Linked DNA regions of Homo sapiens: regions 1, 3, 4, 5 and 6 are each linked to region 2. The links are contacts of gene promoters, found by promoter capture Hi-C in human tissues and cell types (Jung and others, 2019). All regions are on one chromosome and are shown on one strand. The core of a region is centred on a gene start or on the middle of the fragment in contact, and the rest is flanking DNA. Distances in the headings are between cores, read along the strand shown. Region 1 overlaps LOC124900839. Region 2 holds the start of MYL5 (myosin light chain 5). Region 3 holds the start of MIR4800 (microRNA 4800). Region 4 holds the start of LETM1 (leucine zipper and EF-hand containing transmembrane protein 1). Region 5 overlaps RNF4 (ring finger protein 4). Region 6 overlaps NSD2 (nuclear receptor binding SET domain protein 2).

Region 1 (2,850 bases), core at 111-2,610, 1.3 Mb after region 2:
TCTGGTTTGTAAATCCAGAAAGACAGTCAGTTTTCTGTTAGGGTTATCTGCTTGCACCATGCCGGGGCTCCCTAGCTGTCCTCAGGCTTAAGCTTTGAAAATGGCCTTAAAACTCACCAGGATCAGTCAGCTGTGGTGGCTCATGCCTGTGATCCCAACACTTTGGAAGGCCGAGGCAGGTGGATCACCTGAGGTCAGGAGTTCAAAACCAGCCTGGCCAACATGGCAAAACCCCATCTCTACTAAAAATACAAAAATTAGCCGGGCACAGTGGTGGGCACCTGTAATCCCAGCTACTCAGGAGGCTGAGGCAGGAGCATTGCTTGAATCCGGGAGGCAGAGGTCGCAGTGAGCTGAGATCACACCATTGCACTCCAGCCTGGGCAACAGAGCAAGACTTTGTCTCAAACAAACAAACAAATTCACCAGGCTGGTCCTTTCCTCCAAGTTTTTACTTCCCTCCAAAATCCGCTTGCTTTGGTTTATGCTCCAAAGCCTTTAATCAGTGGGAGGGTTGGCCTGTTAGCTATCCCGCCATACTTTTCACTGTTACATGAGTCCATTAAGTGATATGTTTGCTTATTTTTATTCTTATTTTTTTGAGACGGATTCTCACTCTGTCGCCCAGGCTGGAGTGCAGTAGTGTGATCTTGGCTCACTGCAAGCTCCGCCTCCCGGGTTCTGGCCGTTCTCCTGCCTCAGCCTCCTGAGTATCTGGGACTACAAGTCGCCCGCCACCACGCCCGGCTAATTTTTTGTATTTTTATTAGAGATGGGGTTTCACCGTGTTAGCCAGCATGGTCTCGATCTCCTCACCTCGTGATCCGCCCGCCTCAGCCTCCCAAAGTGCTGGGATTACAGGTGTGAGCCACCATGCCCGGCCATGTTTGCTTATTTTTTAAGGTGCCCTAGATCAAATTAAAGAAGTTCCCTTCTATTCCTAATTTGCTACAGGTTTTTAAAAATCATGACCAACATTTAATTTTATCAAATGTTCTTATAAAATGTTTTGTTGTGCATACTGAGATGATTGTATGATTTTTTCACCTTTATTTTGTAAATGTGATGAATTACATTGATTGCCTTTCAAATTACATAAACCTTACTTTCCTAGAATAAGCCCAACTTGGACTATGTTATTCTTTTTTACACGTTGCTAGATTTCGCTTGTTAGTATTTTATCTAGACTACTAATGCTTTGTTCATGAGGAGAGCCTTTACAGTGTTGGGTTAAGTTTATGCAGCCTCTTGCAGTGAGTGGATCCCTCTTCTCACCTTACCTGGGAGAAGCCCTCTAGGTCATCACCACACCAGCAGCCAGTCCTAATCGGCTGCTACGACGGCTCCTGGAAGCTGGAGAAAAAAATGATGACAGAGAAAATGAGGTGGAAGGCTGGGCACAGTGGCTCATGCCTGTAATCCCAGCACTTTGGGAGGCCGAGGCAGGTGGATCATGAGGTCAAGAGATCAAGACCATCCTGGCCAACATGGTGAAACCCTGTCTCTACTAAAAATACAAAAATTAACTGGGCGTGGTGGCTCATGCCTGTAATCCCAGCTACACAGGAGGCTGAGGCAGGAGAATCGCTTGAACCTGGGAGGTGGAGGTTGCCGTGAGCTGAGATCGTGCCATTGCACTCCAGCCTGGGCACCAAGCGTGAGACTCCGTCTCAAAAAAAAAAAAAAAAAAAGAAAGAAAGAAAATGAAAAAAAAAAAGAGATGGAAAAGACAGAGGGGCCTTGGCAGAATATTGAGGACGGGATGAGAATTGAGACCACCTGTGTCCACTTAACTCTTGGGATCAAGAGCTGAGATCACCTGTGTCAACCTGATTTAATGATTATTTCCAGAAAATTCTTTCCAGGAAGATAAAACTAAATCAGTCAATCACTGTTTGCTTCAGGAAAATCTTGCAGAACAATGTATCCTGGCACATAGTTTACCAATCTGGGAACCAGCTCACTCATCAGAACCTTCATCTGGCTGTGTTTCTCTGTCCTGCACTGTTGGGCCATAAGCTCTGTCCTATCCCAATGAGTCCTTGCACTGAAAGACAGACCATCAACCATCTGAGCCCAGATTCTAAAATCCTATGAGGCCAGGCGCACTTTGGGAGGCTGAGGTGGGAGGATTGCGTGAGCCCAGGAGTTAGAGACCAGCCTTGGCAACACAGCAAGACTCTGTCTCTACAAAACACTAAAAAATTAGCCGGGTGTGGTGGAGCACACCTGTAGTCCCAGCTACTTGGGAGGTTGATGGGGGAGGATTGCTTGAGCCCAGGAGGTTGAGGCTGCAGTGAGCTGTGGTTGCACCACTGCAATCTAGCCCGGGCAACAGAGCAAGACCCTGTCTCTAAAAATAAACAAGTTTTCTGGGAGTCACTGTTGAGTTGTTGGCAGTGAATGGTCCTAAATGTTCCCATGGGATTCGGCTGAGACGGCCTCCCCAGGATGGCCTGAGACCTGCGACTGGAACCAGCACTCTCCCCGTGACCCTCTGGTTTTCTTTTGTGAAAGCTCCTTGTGTTCCAGGATTGAGAAAGCCTTCTTACGTGTGCTTTGATTATCTGATGAGATGAAGATTTTGATCCTTGTGGAAACTACTTTGCTCCTAACAACAATTCTGTGTGTCCGTCTGTCCTTGTCACCTTCTGTTGTGAAGAGCTCCTTGGGAAGAGGATGAACTAACACAGGTCTGAATGTCCCTGTCTCAAGGGCACCAAGGGCCAGTGAGTTCAGATCTCGTGAATCCACTGTTCTTATCTAACAAACTAAGTCCTCATCTGCACCTTCAGTTTTGCCTTGTCTTCAGACAGATTCTCTGCTCACGCCTGTCCTCCTAGGGAGACC
Region 2 (2,730 bases), core at 107-2,606:
TTCCCCATTTTTAAACAATCCGCATCTACTTAGCTCTGCTTAAATGTCCTCCTCCATTTTCCTTATCCCTGCACAAACCTGGGAGGGACAATCTATAAGAGCCAGTGTCACTCGTACCTTCTGCCAATTCTCTGGCAATCCGTTTCAGTTCATCCTGCTTCTTCTTCTCTTCTGCTGCTATCCTCCTCTCCTCTTCTGCCCGAGGTTTTAGGTAATCTGTTTGGCGGAATGCAGGAGAATAAAATTCACTGGAAATGCTGTACAAAAGGAACTGAGTCCACAGGTCAAGGTATCTTCAGCGACGCTGTAAACCAGACGCACCTGCTGTTCCCGCTCTTTATGTTAATGCGAGTCAACGCCTGACCTTCACCCTGACGAGTCCAACCCAGAGGCTACAGGGCCCCTGCTGCCCACCCGCTCACGCACTGGCTCACTCGTCCTCTGCGAACAGGGACTGCCTCCCATCAAGACCTCAGCACTCGAACAGCCATTTAGCACCCGTTTTCACCAAGAAGCAGCCGTTTTCGAGTCCCCCGCCCGGGCCTCAGAAGCCTGAGCTTTGGGTGAGCTGATTCCACTATCGGGGTCACGCTCGGTGGAGGACACGGTCCTGCAGCCTCGCATGCGTCCCAAGCCCCCTTCCAGAGCTGGAGTTCTCCAAATAGCACAGGAGCTCCACAGGAAAGCCGAGCAGACCCCGCCCCGGCCCCGCCCGCGGTCACTCACTGTAGCGCGTGGCTCCGTAGGCCACACCGAGGAACAGGGCGGAGTAGCGGCCGAGCTGCGAAAGAGGTTGGTCAGAGGCGGCGCGAAACGGGGCTCGCGGGACGGGGGTCGCGGGAGGAGGGGGGGCGGGGTCGCTGGGCAGAGGTCGCAGGAGGGGTGGGGGTCCGGTCGCCGGGCGAGGGTCACGGGGCGAGGATCATGGGGGCGGGGGCCGGGGGTCGCAGCCCGCGGGGTCGGAGCTGCGGGGCGGGACACGGGGGGGCCCAGAGCACTGGGCGGCGGCTGCAAAGCCTGGATCACCTTGATGAGCGGAGAGACCTGCACCGGTGGCACCATCTTGTCCCTGACCTCCGCACCGGAAGCACAACCTGCAGACGGAGCAGGATGCCGCACAAGCCAGCAAAGCCTTGGAGGCAAAGGCGGAGCTGGGCGCACGCATGCGCCGTCAGCGGCGAGAGAGCGGGGGGCCGCGCCCCCTGGCGACCGAAGGGTGACTGCGCGCCCCCGCGCGGCGGTGACGTCACGTGAGGCGCACGCGCACAAAGGCTGGGGAGTGCGCGGAGGATCATCGGCTGCGCCTGCGCAGTTGCTGCGTGAGGCGGGATCTGCGCCGAGTGGGCGGGGGGTTTCCTTTCCCCGCAGGGCTGGGGGTCCGCTGTTTCCCCGCGCTGCTGCCGAGGCCCCGCCGTCCGCGTCCTGGCCGTGTGTCCACACCCCAGACTGCGGGCCGGGGCGCACTCTGTCTTCTTGCGCGGAGCGTCGGAGGCCTGAGGTCAGGGCGGCTCGGGCGGGTCCAGCCCCGCGGACCGCGCCCACCCGAGGGTGGCCTGGGCAGGGACCTGGGGGTCCTGGGAGCGGAGTGTGAGCCGAGTGCAGGTGGCTCCCCGGGCAGGTCCTTCTCCTACAAGGCAGTAGTGTCTGTCGCCGGCCGGGCCGCGTTGGATTCCGCGGCCCGCGGGAGCATGGCCTCCAGGCCCCTCTTCCTGCGGCTGCTCTGCCCGGGAGCACGGGGCGCCCTTCATCCCGGAGCTGGAGCTTCCTCACCCCAGGATGCCCCATCACTTCTGTCCCGAAGAGGGGCTGGGATCTTCTTGGGAAGACCAGCCCCCAACAGAGGCTGCTCCCTGGGTCCCCCGACTCCAGGCCTCAGGACTCCACGGCTCCAAGGGCCTGCCCCGGCCCAGGCCTGGGGACCACTGAGCCCCACACTGGTCTTTGCTGGCCTCTGTCCACCTCCCGGTAGCTGTGTGTCTCCCACAGCTGCCCAGAGATGGGGCCTGCGGTGCCTATGCAGCCTCCCCGCTGTGCCCGAAGTGCTGACCCGCCAGCCCCATGGACACCAGGCTTGGAGTCTAGGCAGGAGCCTGGCACCCCCTCCACGTTCTGGGTCTTCCTGGCGGCAGCCATGCTGCCCGTGCTGGGCCACCCTCGGGCCCCCTTTGGCCCCATGCAGTAGTGACGCAAGGCCTCCTGTGTCCCCTCCTGGCCCTGCACTGCTACAGGCAGAAGCAACTGGAGAACTATGGCTCGGGTCTCGCTAAGGTGCAGCATCACAAACTCCAGGACTCTTGAAGCAAGCATGGGGAGGACCCGTGATCCTGGCGGCCTGGGCTACCTGTCCGGGCCTAAGTCGCCTCTGCCCCCTCTCCTGGCTTGCTCTGGGGTCCAGGGCCTGGGCCTCTCTGGCTGAGAAACTAGGAAGTCACTGGGCTCTGTTTCCTGAGCTGGGTATACCAAGGCCAGTCCTATAGGGCAGGGGTCCCCAACCCCCAGGTGCAGACCAGTACCAGCTTGTGGCCCGTTAGGAACCGGGCAGCACAGGACGAGGTGAGGGAGCATGATTGCCCGAGCTCCACCCACTTTCAGATCAGCCTGGGCATCAGATTCCCATAGGAGCGTGAACCCTACTGTGAGCTGCGCACTTGGATCTGGATTGCGCTCTGGTGAGAATCTAATGCCTGATGAACTGAGGTGGAATAGTTTCATCCCGAAACCTTCCTCCCC
Region 3 (2,700 bases), core at 201-2,700, 1.6 Mb after region 2:
CCGCCACAGTGGGCCCCCCATCCTGGGGCGTCTATGCGTACGACTGAAAATAGACACGAATTTTCCCCATGATATGGGAATTGGCTACAGATGTACCAGAGGCACGGCAGGCACTGCTATGGGCCAGCCCCAAGGACAGAGGACGTCAGGAAGGAAAGGCGGGTGCAAGCCTCCTGGTGCCAGGCCTGCACCACCCAGCGAGCACAGTCTTCATTGGCTGCCAGTGTCTGAAACCTGGAACCCTCGCCTAGGCCAGGAAGCAGGGGGCTCGAGTCAGGTGACAGGTGAGAATCCATCTCTCTAGTGAGCAAGCAGGCCCCTGCCAGCCACTGGGGAGGGCAACACTGGGGACCAGGTCACAGCCCCTCCGTGCCACCCACAGGGGCCTGGCTGCATCGCCTCCAGGAAGCCCTGGCTGCCGGGAGGGGCTGCCCACAGGAGATGGGAGGACAGCACTAGCTGGGCAGGCCTGGGGCACCCTGAGCCACGAGGGACATGCTGGTGGGAAGGGCAAGGCCTGACACAAGACACAAGGCACACTTTGACGACGTGACGGAGGGACAGGTCCCTGAGACGCTGGGTGGCTCCCACCCCTCAGCAAACAAGGACGCAACAACAGCTAGGAAAATAGAATACAAAAATCTGGTACAGGAAACAGAGGCGGCACACACGGACGTCCCTAGGCCGAGAGTCTTTAGGCTTTCTTCTTTTTAAAAATGGTTTTTTTTTTTTTTCTGGGAAAGCCTCTCTGCCAGCTGAAGCTGCCGCAGCAGAGCTCATGAGAAGCCCTTTCCTAAGGTGGCTCCAGGAGCCCTAACCGGGCTGCTGGGCAGTGCAGCATTTTACTTTTTTGCTTTTTGTTTAAAAAAGGGAGATGAGTAAGCCCCCGAGGACCCAGCGGCTGCAACTTAACCAGCCTCCAGTTCACCCCAGCCCCAGCCAGGAAGAGAAGCCCCTCTCCTGTGCAGACAGGCAGGACTACTGGGTGGGCGTGGGTGAGCAGGAGCTAGAGGGGGATCCAGGCACAGCCCAGGGGCTGTTTGCCAGATGACCCCTGAAGGCCATCATCCCCAGAACATGTGACCTCGGGACGCCCAGGTGTGTCTGCATGTGTGAGCATGTACATGAGTGGGTGTGTCTAGGTGCGTGCGCGTGTGCGTCTGACAGTCCTACCAGAGCAGACGCTGCCCAGCTCGGCGTGGGCTGGGCTGGCCTGCCTGGCCCCGAGAGCCCAGCCCTAGGTTCTGACACCTGCGAAGTGGGAAGGACCTTAACCACCCACCTGCCCCAGGTGCTCACCCAGTTCCCGCCCTTCACAGACCCCTTGTCCACGCCAGGAGCCTATGTGGACTGACAGGTAGGTGGACAGACGGACGGATGGACAGACAGCCTTGCCTTCCTTCCTTCCTCGGTCCACTCCTTTCTCCTGGGATCCAGGGTTGGGGTCTGAGCTCCCTGTGGTGGTCATTAAGCCCCTCACACGGCACCTGCCGAGGTTTGCAGCAATGACGTTTAATACTTCTGGAATGATTAGGAATCTGAGAACAGACCGTGGGCGGCTATGCTGACCAGGGCTCCGGATGTGGAAGCTGGGCCCTGCCTCCTTGCAGGGGACTCTGCCCAGCTGGAAGGGGCAGGCAGCTCGGCAGGCCCTGACCGGCAAGCGGGCAGTGCCAGGCAGCCCAGCAGCAGCTGGAGCTTCCAGAATGGCACAGCAGTGGGCCTGTGGAGAGGCTGGCGTCAACTGAAGGAGAACTGGAGGGCTGACACGCGTGGCTGGCGGGCAGGCAGGCCAAGGAGCAGAGGGCACGGGCCTACGAGAGGGCGGGGCGGCCCAGCCGCCGGCAGTGGGGCCCGAAGCCACTGTCGCCGCCGGTGCCACTCTGCAGGCTGTAGTGGTCGTCCGCGTCACTGCTGCTGCCAACACTGTCCAGCTCACCAGGGCCAAACTCCATGCCCTCTATGTCCACTTCTAGGGAGAATAGAGTGGGGATGGGGTCAGGCCACTCTGAGGGTGCCAGCCCATTTCTCCCTTTTCTGGAAGCAGAAGCTCTAGGCAGAGGGGCAGAAGTGCGGAGGGCGCTGTCTGGGCCCTGGGGCAGCAGACGCCAGGAGGGCTCTGGCTGAGAACCCGGCCTCAGAAGCACCAGTCCTCAGCGGGCCACACAGCCTCTGCATCCCACCCTCCCTGTCCAGTCCCTTCTGCGCTTAGTGACAAACACACACCCCAGTGCAGCAGGGAGCTGGGAGGGTTCTCCCCAGCCCCAGCACCAGGCACCTCCTCTCCACCCAGGGAGCTGCACCACTGCGCACCCGGAGGCCCAGGTGAGGCTGCCCCGCGCCCCACGCCCCACCTTGCTCTGAGTCGTCCGTGGAGACAGCAGAGCCCGTGCTATCTGTGCGCACGCGCTCCACGCTCTGCACCGACAGCTGCTCCAGGCGCCGCTTCAGGAAACGATGCTCCTGCTGCAGCTGCTCCTTGATGCTCAGTGCCCGGCGGTCCTGCTCCTCCAGTTTCTGGGGTCGAGGGGGGCTGTGAGCTCACAGCGGGAAGAGGAGTCCCCCCATCCCCCTGGCCAGGCACTGGGGCACCCAGGCCTGGGCCCGGGAGGTTCCCCATCCCTGCCAAGACCTAGCCAAGGCTACAGGCCACAGGGTGCCCAGTCTCTGCCAGCCCCACAGCCTGAGGTGGGTCCCTCC
Region 4 (2,700 bases), core at 95-2,594, 1.2 Mb after region 2:
AAACAAAAAAAAACAAGAATTGGGAGGATACATTCAGGGCAACTTCAATCTATCTCTTTGGGGGTGGGGAACAGAGACAAGAATATTGAAGCTGGGTGCCTGGGCATGGTGGCTCCTGTAATCCCAGCACTTTGGGAGGCCAAAGCAGGAGGATCAGTTGAGCCTTGGAGTTCAAGACCAGGCTGGGCAACATACCAAGACCCTGTCTCTACAAAAAAACTACAAAAAAAAAAATTAGCTGGGTGTTGTGTGGCACAACTAACAACTTGGGAGGCTGAGGCAGAAGGATAGCTTGAGCCCAGGAGTTTGAGGTGCAGTGAGTATGATCGCACCACTGCACTAATTATTTTACTTGAGTCCCTCTTAGCAAGTTTTATGTTTATTCCAATTTTACAAATAAGGACATAGACTCAAATAAGTTGGTTAATTAGAGAGAGAGAGGAGGTGGGCACACCCTGGGACAGCATTCACTCCAGACAGCACCTGAGGCTAGGGGGGCTAAAGCCACGCACCCTGAGGACCCTCAGCGGCTCCGGAGTCCCCGTGTTCCCCGGGTGCCGGTCGCGGCCTAATCACACCACAGGGGTTTGTAGGTGCTGGCATCACCTCATCAGTGACGGACCAGGAAGGCTCCTGCAGCCCAGCAGGTCCTGCTCGCCGGTGTCTGCCCTGCCCACCCAGTCTCGTCTCCGGGACCCCAAACGTGACCAAAGGGCACGGCCGTCCTCGTGCGTGGACACGTTCCACCAAGCTTACTCGCGCAGGGCGCGCCAGGGCTGCCCAGCCCTTCAGAATTTTCCCACTGTCTCTGAGGCAGTGACCCGGGGGACCCGGCCGCCTAAGGTCACAACACACGGCAGAGGCCCAGCGGCTCCGCCCGGCGCTGGCGGCCCAGCCCGCGACGAGACCCGGGGCCCCACGGTCCCGCAGGGGCTCCGGAGGCCGGGACCACCGGGCTCCCCGCATCGCCGTGACAACCAGCCCGAACCCGCGGGTCGTCCGCGCTCCCGACCCACCAGCCGGGAGCCGGCCCCGCCCTGGGGTGCCCGCCGCTTACCCCGCGGGACGGTGTACCGAGGCGGCGGCGGGAGGCGGGCGGGCGCCCGGCCGCGGCAGCTCCTCAGTAAGATGGACGCCATGTGCTCGGGCGCGGCGGCCGCTCCGGCCTCCTGCGCTGCCTCCTTCTCCGCGGCGGCCGCGGCTCTTCGCCGTCCCGGCGGCGCTTCAGACCCGGCCCGCGCGGACGGCTGACAGAGGCGGCTGGCCTCGGACGGGAGGCGCTCTCCTCAAGGACCCGGCACCAGCGGCGGCCTTGTCCCGGCACAGACGTCCGGAGGCGCGGGGCGGGGCGGCCAGGCCGCGGCTCCCATTGGGCCCCTCAGCGCCCGCCGCTGGCCAGGTGAGGGGCGGACCGCGCCACCGCGGACTACCGGTTCCGGCGTGCACCGGGACGGCCTGCACGCTGGGGTGCGGACTACCGATCCCGGCGTGCACCGGAGCGGCGGACTACCCTGAGGCGCGGACTACCGGTCCCGGCGTGCACCGGGGCGGCTGGCTCCTGGGGCTCGCTGCATCCTGGTTCCCGTCGTACCGTGGACGCCGGGGCTCGCAGCGTGGCGGCCGCAGGAGCTGAGGGAGTCGGCCGCGCTTGCGCGGGGAGTGTCTTTTCGTCTCCGGGCGGCGGCAGCAGCGCGTGTGTCCGGAACTTTTCTGGGACTAAGTCCTGCACCCACGAGTAGAAAACGGCTCCTGGGAGCTTGGGGCTCCAAGGGCAAGTCAGGGGACGCTGGGGATGGAGGGGCGCCCTCGACGCCCTCGGCCGCGGTCCCTCGCCGGCCCCCCTGCTCTGTGGCTCTGCCCTCGGCGGTCTGCACTCTGGCGCGCGCAGCTCTGAGTGCCTCTTCCCTGCGTACCGGGCGGCGCTCCCCAGATACGGCGCTGCTCGGCGTCGGGAGTCCCCGTCACCACTGGGGGGACGGGAGCGCAGGGTCCCGCCCCGAAGGACAGGGCCATGCCGGCCCCTGGAGGCGAGGGCACTAGGCCGGGTGGCGGCGCAGCCAGCATAGCGGCCCCCCATCCCGGCACACCGCGTCCTCCCGTCTGAGCGGGAGGGGTAGATATGGGTCCTGCGTTGGCGCGGGGGGACCCCTCGTTTCGCTCTGGCCTAAGCAGCCCCTGGGGTCCCGCGCGCCGCAAGAGCGCCAGACTTCCTAACCTGGGCCATACCCTGTCCGCTCCACTTCCCAGTCCAAGAAGGAACAGCCGAAGCCCAGGACGCCAAGGACCTGGCTCGAAGTCTCCAGAATTCCCGCCAGAGCTGGGCTGGGCTCGCGGACCGCTCATGCGCCGTCTCCCAGGAGCCTCCCCCCAGCCCAGTTTAATAGCCGGCCCTGACCAGTCCAGGGGAGAGAGACCGTGCAGCCTCCCAGCAGACCGTGACCTCTGAGCTCCACCTTCCCCTTCCTTCCCTAAGATGAGGATCCCTGAGTTGGGGCAGAGAAAGCAGGCAGGGAGAAAAATGGGGACCTGCGGCGCTGGGGGCCCAGCTGGTGGAGATCTCCAGCTAGGAGATCCCCAGCACAGCACTTGCCCTGCCCTCTGTCTTGTTCAGGGATGTAACCTGCCTCCTCCTGCTTCTCCGCGGCACCTCAGGGCACCGCCTGGGGAGGGTCTTGTAGTGCACACTCAGCATCTCTGTTC
Region 5 (2,777 bases), core at 267-2,766, 1.8 Mb after region 2:
CGTGCCACTGCACTCCTGCCTGGACGACAGAGCGAGACTCTGTCTCAAAAAAAAAAAGTTAAATGCATTACAAGACACTTTCCCCAAATATTAGACCAATACTGTTTCTTAAAAAACTTCATTTAGTGTTTTGTTGTTGTTGTTGTTTGTTTGTTTTTGAGATGGAGTTTTGCTCTTGTTGCCCAGGCTGGGGTGCAGTGGCGTGATCTTTGCATCCCGGGGTTCAAGCAATTCTCCTGCCTCAGCCTCCCGAGTAGCTGGGATTACAGGCATGTGCCACCACACCTCGCTAATTTTGTATTTTTAGTAGAAACGGAGTTTCTCCATGTTGGTCAGGCTGGTCTCGAACTCTCAACCTCAGGTGATCCGCCCACCTCAGCCTCCCAAAGTGCTGGGATTACAGGTGTGAACCACTGTGCCTGGCCCATTCCGTGCTTTTTAATATTAATATTAATAGTAATCAGAAATAAAAATGGTTGTGCGTCATTTTTTACTTTATATAAATGGAAGTTGTACGTTAACTGTTTGGTCCATGTCCTTCTCACCTTTATCCTGTGCACATGTAGACATCACAGTATACCCTAAGGGCTGAAAGGCAAGCTTCACAACAGATGCAACCCATTTTGTATGTTGAGGTTCTAGCTATCAGTATATATCACTGTTATTCTCCATCCAACTAGGGAGACAAACTTGAGAGATAAATGGAAATTAAAAGTTTGTCCTTGGCCGGGCACGGTGGCTCACGCCTGTAATCCCAACACTTTGGAAGACTGAAGTGGGTGGATCACAAGGTCAGGAGTTCAAGACCAGCCTGGCCAAGATGGTGAAACCCCATCTCTACTAAAAATACAAACAAAATTAGCCAGGCATGCTGCCAGGCGCCTGTAATCCCAACTACTCGGGAGGCTGAGACAGAGAATTGCTTGAACCCAGGAGGCGGAGGTTGCAGTGAGCCAAGATCGCACCACTGCACTCCAGCCTTGGCGACAGAGCGAGACTCTGTCTCAAAAAAAAAAAAAAAAAAAAAGAATTTGCCCTAGATTAACCGATGAAGTTACTAAGCTAAGCCTGACTTTTGGTCCTTGGGCCAAGTGAGAGTGGTCAGCTTCACCTGCTGGGAGGAGCAGAGGTTTCAGGCTAGTCCATCCCAAAGAGAAAGGCCTGGGGCTGGGCATGCATGGTGCGTTCTCCCAGATGGGGCACAGAGGCATAGCCGTGTGGAAGTGGGATGCCGTGGAATAGAGGTATGCACATGCGCACACATACATAACCCCCCAGGTACATTTGTAAAAACCATACCTCCCCACTCAGAGCAGAATTCTGGAAGGGTGGTTACTGGCTTTCCCTCCTGAGGGAGGTGTTGGTCCTGGTGCTCTTTGCAGTGTATACTTCAGGATTGTTTTAGTTTGGGGTAAGCCTATAACATTAGCAGTCATACTAAAGTGTAGAGGGATACAACCTTACTTTCCTCTTAATCTTAATGCTTGTTGAAATACTTTCTTTTGAAGCTGGAGATGAAATTGTGGACCTCACTTGTGAATCTTTAGAGCCTGTGGTGGTTGATCTGACTCACAATGACTCTGTTGTGGTAAGTGTTGGAGTGTGAGAGTCGGCTGTTTCTTGGGTATGGGTCCCTGGCCAGTGCCAGCATCTGACAGCCTTGGTCACAGACTCCAAGTCAAGGTTACAGCTTATGCTAAAGAAGTTCATGCATCTTGTGGAATTGAGCTTTTAGAAAGAAAATAAACAGTAACAATAATAATAACAAAGAAGTTCATGCATTCAGTGACGAGAGCCCAAAATGAAAAATGTTTCTGGAAAATCATTTGTTATAGCCTTGTCGCCTATGGAGTAGGTCTGTGTAACCTGACCTTGCCACACCTGGGCACAAAAGTGGTTTGGGGAGAATCTCAAGACCCCCACATCTGTCTTCAGTCCCTGATTCCACAGTTTACACCAGCTGTGTGACCTTGGGCATGTGACTTAGCCTCATTCACTTTCCATGAAATGGGGACAGGTCACTCATGTCAGCAGGGCATGGTGTAAGACATCTTACAACAGATGCCGTGTTTGAGTGCCTGACACCTAGAATGGTGCCCAGTCACTGTGAGTGTATGCCCTCCCAACTGAAAGGAAAGGGAACGTTGGCTCAGCACTGCCCATGGGAAATCTCTCAAGTTCCAAAAGTGCCTGCTACTTAGCATGGCCTCAGGGGATGCAGGCTCCCTGCATTGCCACCTGATGCCTGCTGCGTCCTGATGCCAGGGAGGCTGGAGCCCAGGAGGCTGCCTGTGTCCCTGTCTCATGGCACCGGTTACAGACTGCAGGGGACGTGTGTATACGTGTCCTGCCTGCCAGGAGGGAGGCCTTGTCTGGTCAGAGGACACACGGAGAAGCTATTTCTGATAGACCTGTTTCATGGTGCATGCAGGTCTGGGAATCTGGTCAGCATCTTAAGGGCAAGTTTGCCTCTGGAAGATGCCACTTGAGTGTTTTCTGACAGTGTGCTCGGAACACAGGTCGGGGTGGGGGCACACTTGGCAGCATTGGCAGTGGGGTGGTAAGTGCTGCTGAGGAGGACTGTGGGGTGTGGGGGCTGCTAGTAGCTGAGTCTTCGCCTTGGCCCTGGGCTCACTGGTGTTGGGGTTATCCTGTTTGGCTGATGCCTGGGTATCTGAATAGGGACACCCCATAGGTGTTGCTTCTTAGTTGTGCTGAGAACTTCAGAATAGGGTTATACTGAGAAGTTTCAAGACTTCAATGCAAAGAAAAGGACA
Region 6 (2,749 bases), core at 206-2,705, 1.2 Mb after region 2:
GGTTTGCTAGTTAAAAAATCCAGACAGATTGGCCGGGTGCAGTGGCTCACGCCTGTAATCCCAGCACTTTGGGAGGCCGAGGCGGTTGGATCACGAGGTCAGGAGGTCGAGACCATCCTGGCTAACATGATGAAACCCCGTTTCTACTAAAAAAAAAAAATACAAAAAATTAGCTGGGCATGGTGGTGGACGCCTGTAGTCCCAGCTACTCGGGAGGCTGAGGCAGGAGAATGGCGTTAACCCAGGAGGCGGAGCTTGCAGTGAGCCAAGACTGCGCCACTGCACTCCAGCCTGGGAGACAGCGAGACTCCATCTCAAAAAAAAAGAATTCAAGACAGATTTTGGCTGGGTGCGGTGGCTCAAGCTTGTAATCCCAGCACTTTGGGAGGCCGAGGCGGGTGGATCATGAGGTCAGGAGATTGAGACCATCCTGGCTAACATGGTGAAACCCTGTCTCTACTAAAAATATAAAAAATAAGCTGGGCATGGTTGCAGTGCCTGTAGTCCCAGCTACTCGGGAGGCTGAGGCAGGAGAATGGTGTGAACCTGGGAGGCGGAGCTTGCAGTGAGCTGAGATCGCGCCACTGCCCTCCACCCTGGTTGACAGAGCAAGACCCCTGTCTCAAAAAAAAAAAACCAAGACAGATTTCAAATTAGTTTTGTTTTAGTATCTGCTTTCCTAAAACCACCTGGCCCCAGATGAGTTTTCAAAGCATTTTACTTTCTGTAATACTTAGTGGTTTCAACAAAATATACAAGGATAGAAATTGCAGTGTTGGTTAGCTGAGTGATGGCCTCAGCTCAAAAACTCCAGTAGTGGATAGGCACAGTTGCTCATGCCTGTAATTGCAGCACTTTGGGAGGCTGAGGTGGGAGGATCACTTGAGACTAGGAGTTTGACACCAGCTTGGGCAACATAGGGAGACCCCATCTCTACAAAAATTTTTGAAAATTAGCTGGGCTTGGTGGTGTGTGCCTATAGTCCCAGATACTTGGGTGGCTGAAGTGGGAGGTCACCTGAGTCCAGGACTTTGAGGCTGCAGTGAGCTGTGATCATACCACCACACTCCAGCCTGGGAGATAGCACAACCCTCTCTCAAAAAACAAACCTAAACACAAAACCCCAATAGTGAGACTACCCTAGTGGGTGTGTAGAAAAAATGCTTTTTTTTTCTGGAAGGAATTGGAACCTCAATTTTTAAGTTGACTTGAGTTGGCACTGAGAGAGTTGATGATGTGAATTAAATTTGTTATGCCGTTTGCTGGTGCGGTGGGTGGCTCACGCCTGTAATCCCAGTGCTTTGGGAGGCCAAGGCAGGCAGATCACCTGAGGTCAGGAGTTCGAGACCAGCCTGGGAAATGTGGTGAAACCCCGTCTCTACTAAAAATACAAAAAATTAGCTGGGCGTGGTGGTGGGTGCCTGTAATCCCAGCTACTCGGGAGGCTGAGGCAGGAGACTTCCCTGAGCCTGGGAGGCAGAGGTTGAAATGAGCCGAGATCATGCTACTGCACTCCAGCCTGGGCGACAGGACGAGATTCTGTCTCAAGGAAAAAAAAAAAATTGTTATGCTTTTAGAGGATCTGTGCATGTTAGCAATGTTCTTACATTTTGATGGTTTTCATATATTTTTTGCTGCTATATTATGGAGGCTAATGATCAGAAAGCATTTTTCCGACTCCGGTTTTACTGTCTTCAGGTAGTTCTCTACACACTGCCTTGTCTTTCTAAAATACAGATGTCCTATGTGTCCCCAGTCTTCAGGGGGTGACTCTCACTGCCCATTGGGGTTCAAGACGAGTCTCTCACTGGCTTTCTGACTCTCACTGCACTACTTGTTTTGCCCTCATCTCAGTTACTCAGCTCATCTCTTTCTGCCATGTTTTTCCTCTGGGCCTTTGTGTGGTCAATTTTTGTTCCTTTCTTCTGCCCATGTGCCCCCTTACCCCATGTGTTTGGGGGATAGGCATGCTTTCCCTCTTCCTTCCTTCTGCCAGGTCTCAGCTTGGGCCCCACACTGAATGCTGTGCCTGACTCCTGCCTGTTTTGGGAGGCTCTTGTCTTTTCCATCGTCACCCACTCCCATTCTCATTCTGTTCCAGCCACACGGGCCTCTTGCCTGCTCTGAAGCCCTGCAGCTCTGCTGCCTCCGACTAGTGCCCTTGTTCCTTCTTTGACCTGGAATGCTGTCCCCAGGTATCTGTGTGGCTTACCCCTCACCCTCCTTCAGGTCTTTGTGCTTCTCCCTCTCGGGCACCTTCTCTGACCACTGATTTAAAGTACTCTGTTGTGACCAGGTACTATTACAGTTTATCTGTGATCCTGGTGCTTTATGAAGCCAAGACGAGAGGATCACTCCAGCCCAGGAGTTTGAGGTTGCAGGGAACCACGATTATGCCACTGCATTCCAGACTGGGTGGCAGTAAGACTCTGTCCCAAAAGAAAAATAAAATTTAAAAAAAGTATTATATATATACACACACACTTCTGAGACGGAGTCTAACTCTGTCACCCAGGCTGGAGTGCAGTGGCACAATCTAGGCTCACCACAACCTCTGCTTCCTGGGTTCAAGCGGTTCTCCTGCCTCAGCCTCCCAAGTAGCTGGGATTACGGGTGTGTGCCACCATGCCCGGCTGATATATATATATATATATATATATATTTTTTTTTTTTTTTTTTTTTTTTTTTTTTTTTGTATTTTTAGTAGAGACTAGGCCATGTTGGCCAGGCTGGTCTCGAACTCCTGACC

The links. The method cuts DNA at HindIII sites, captures the fragments that hold promoters and counts their contacts. A contact is called where the count stands out against the background at its distance.
Region 1: a contact is called between a fragment that was not itself captured here and the fragment with the promoter of MYL5 in region 2, in 1 of the 25 tissues and cell types used here (lymphoblastoid cells).
Region 3: a fragment that was not itself captured here is called in contact with the fragment with the promoter of MYL5 in region 2 in 1 of the 25 tissues and cell types used here (psoas muscle).
Region 4: a contact is called between the fragment with the promoter of LETM1 here and the fragment with the promoter of MYL5 in region 2, in 1 of the 25 tissues and cell types used here (adrenal gland).
Region 5: a fragment that was not itself captured here is called in contact with the fragment with the promoter of MYL5 in region 2 in 1 of the 25 tissues and cell types used here (H1 embryonic stem cells).
Region 6: a contact is called between a fragment that was not itself captured here and the fragment with the promoter of MYL5 in region 2, in 1 of the 25 tissues and cell types used here (H1 embryonic stem cells).

The regions. Positions count from the first base shown.
Region 1 is chr4:2,016,390-2,019,239 of GRCh38, forward strand. It overlaps LOC124900839, which reads right to left. Exons shown (of 4, transcript XM_047416543.1): 3 at 1,281-1,353. Among named protein-coding and RNA genes, the nearest start is that of NELFA, 8.8 kb to the left of the region's middle. The HindIII fragment of the contact is 5,535 bases long and covers 1-2,850 here.
Region 2 is chr4:673,186-675,915 of GRCh38, forward strand. MYL5 (myosin light chain 5) reads left to right here and starts at 1,357. Exons shown (of 9, transcript NM_002477.2): 1 at 1,357-1,498. ATP5ME (ATP synthase membrane subunit e) reads right to left here and starts at 1,091. Exons shown (of 4, transcript NM_007100.4): 1 at 1,027-1,091; 2 at 727-781; 3 at 118-216. The coding sequence starts at 1,062. RefSeq lists enhancers at 1,223-1,980, 1,858-1,927 and a silencer at 1,378-1,647. The HindIII fragment of the contact is 2,744 bases long and covers 1-1,630 here.
Region 3 is chr4:2,248,730-2,251,429 of GRCh38, forward strand. MXD4 (MAX dimerization protein 4) reads right to left here. Exons shown (of 6, transcript NM_006454.3): 5 at 2,355-2,517; 6 at 1-1,972. The coding sequence ends at 1,815. MIR4800 (microRNA 4800) reads right to left here and starts at 1,427; the gene lies at 1,348-1,427. The HindIII fragment of the contact is 7,274 bases long and covers 1-2,700 here.
Region 4 is chr4:1,854,812-1,857,511 of GRCh38, forward strand. LETM1 (leucine zipper and EF-hand containing transmembrane protein 1) reads right to left here and starts at 1,345. Exons shown (of 14, transcript NM_012318.3): 1 at 1,058-1,345. The coding sequence starts at 1,139. RefSeq lists enhancers at 553-1,054, 1,692-1,761, 2,431-2,700 and silencers at 782-971, 982-1,541, 1,942-2,161. The HindIII fragment of the contact is 14,961 bases long and covers 1-2,700 here.
Region 5 is chr4:2,499,151-2,501,927 of GRCh38, forward strand. RNF4 (ring finger protein 4) reads left to right here. Exons shown (of 8, transcript NM_002938.5): 4 at 1,509-1,588. Among named protein-coding and RNA genes, the nearest start is that of RNF4, 31 kb to the left of the region's middle. The HindIII fragment of the contact is 8,662 bases long and covers 1-2,777 here.
Region 6 is chr4:1,875,591-1,878,339 of GRCh38, forward strand. All of the region lies in intron 1 of NSD2 (nuclear receptor binding SET domain protein 2), which reads left to right. Among named protein-coding and RNA genes, the nearest start is that of NSD2, 5.6 kb to the left of the region's middle. The HindIII fragment of the contact is 5,818 bases long and covers 1-2,749 here.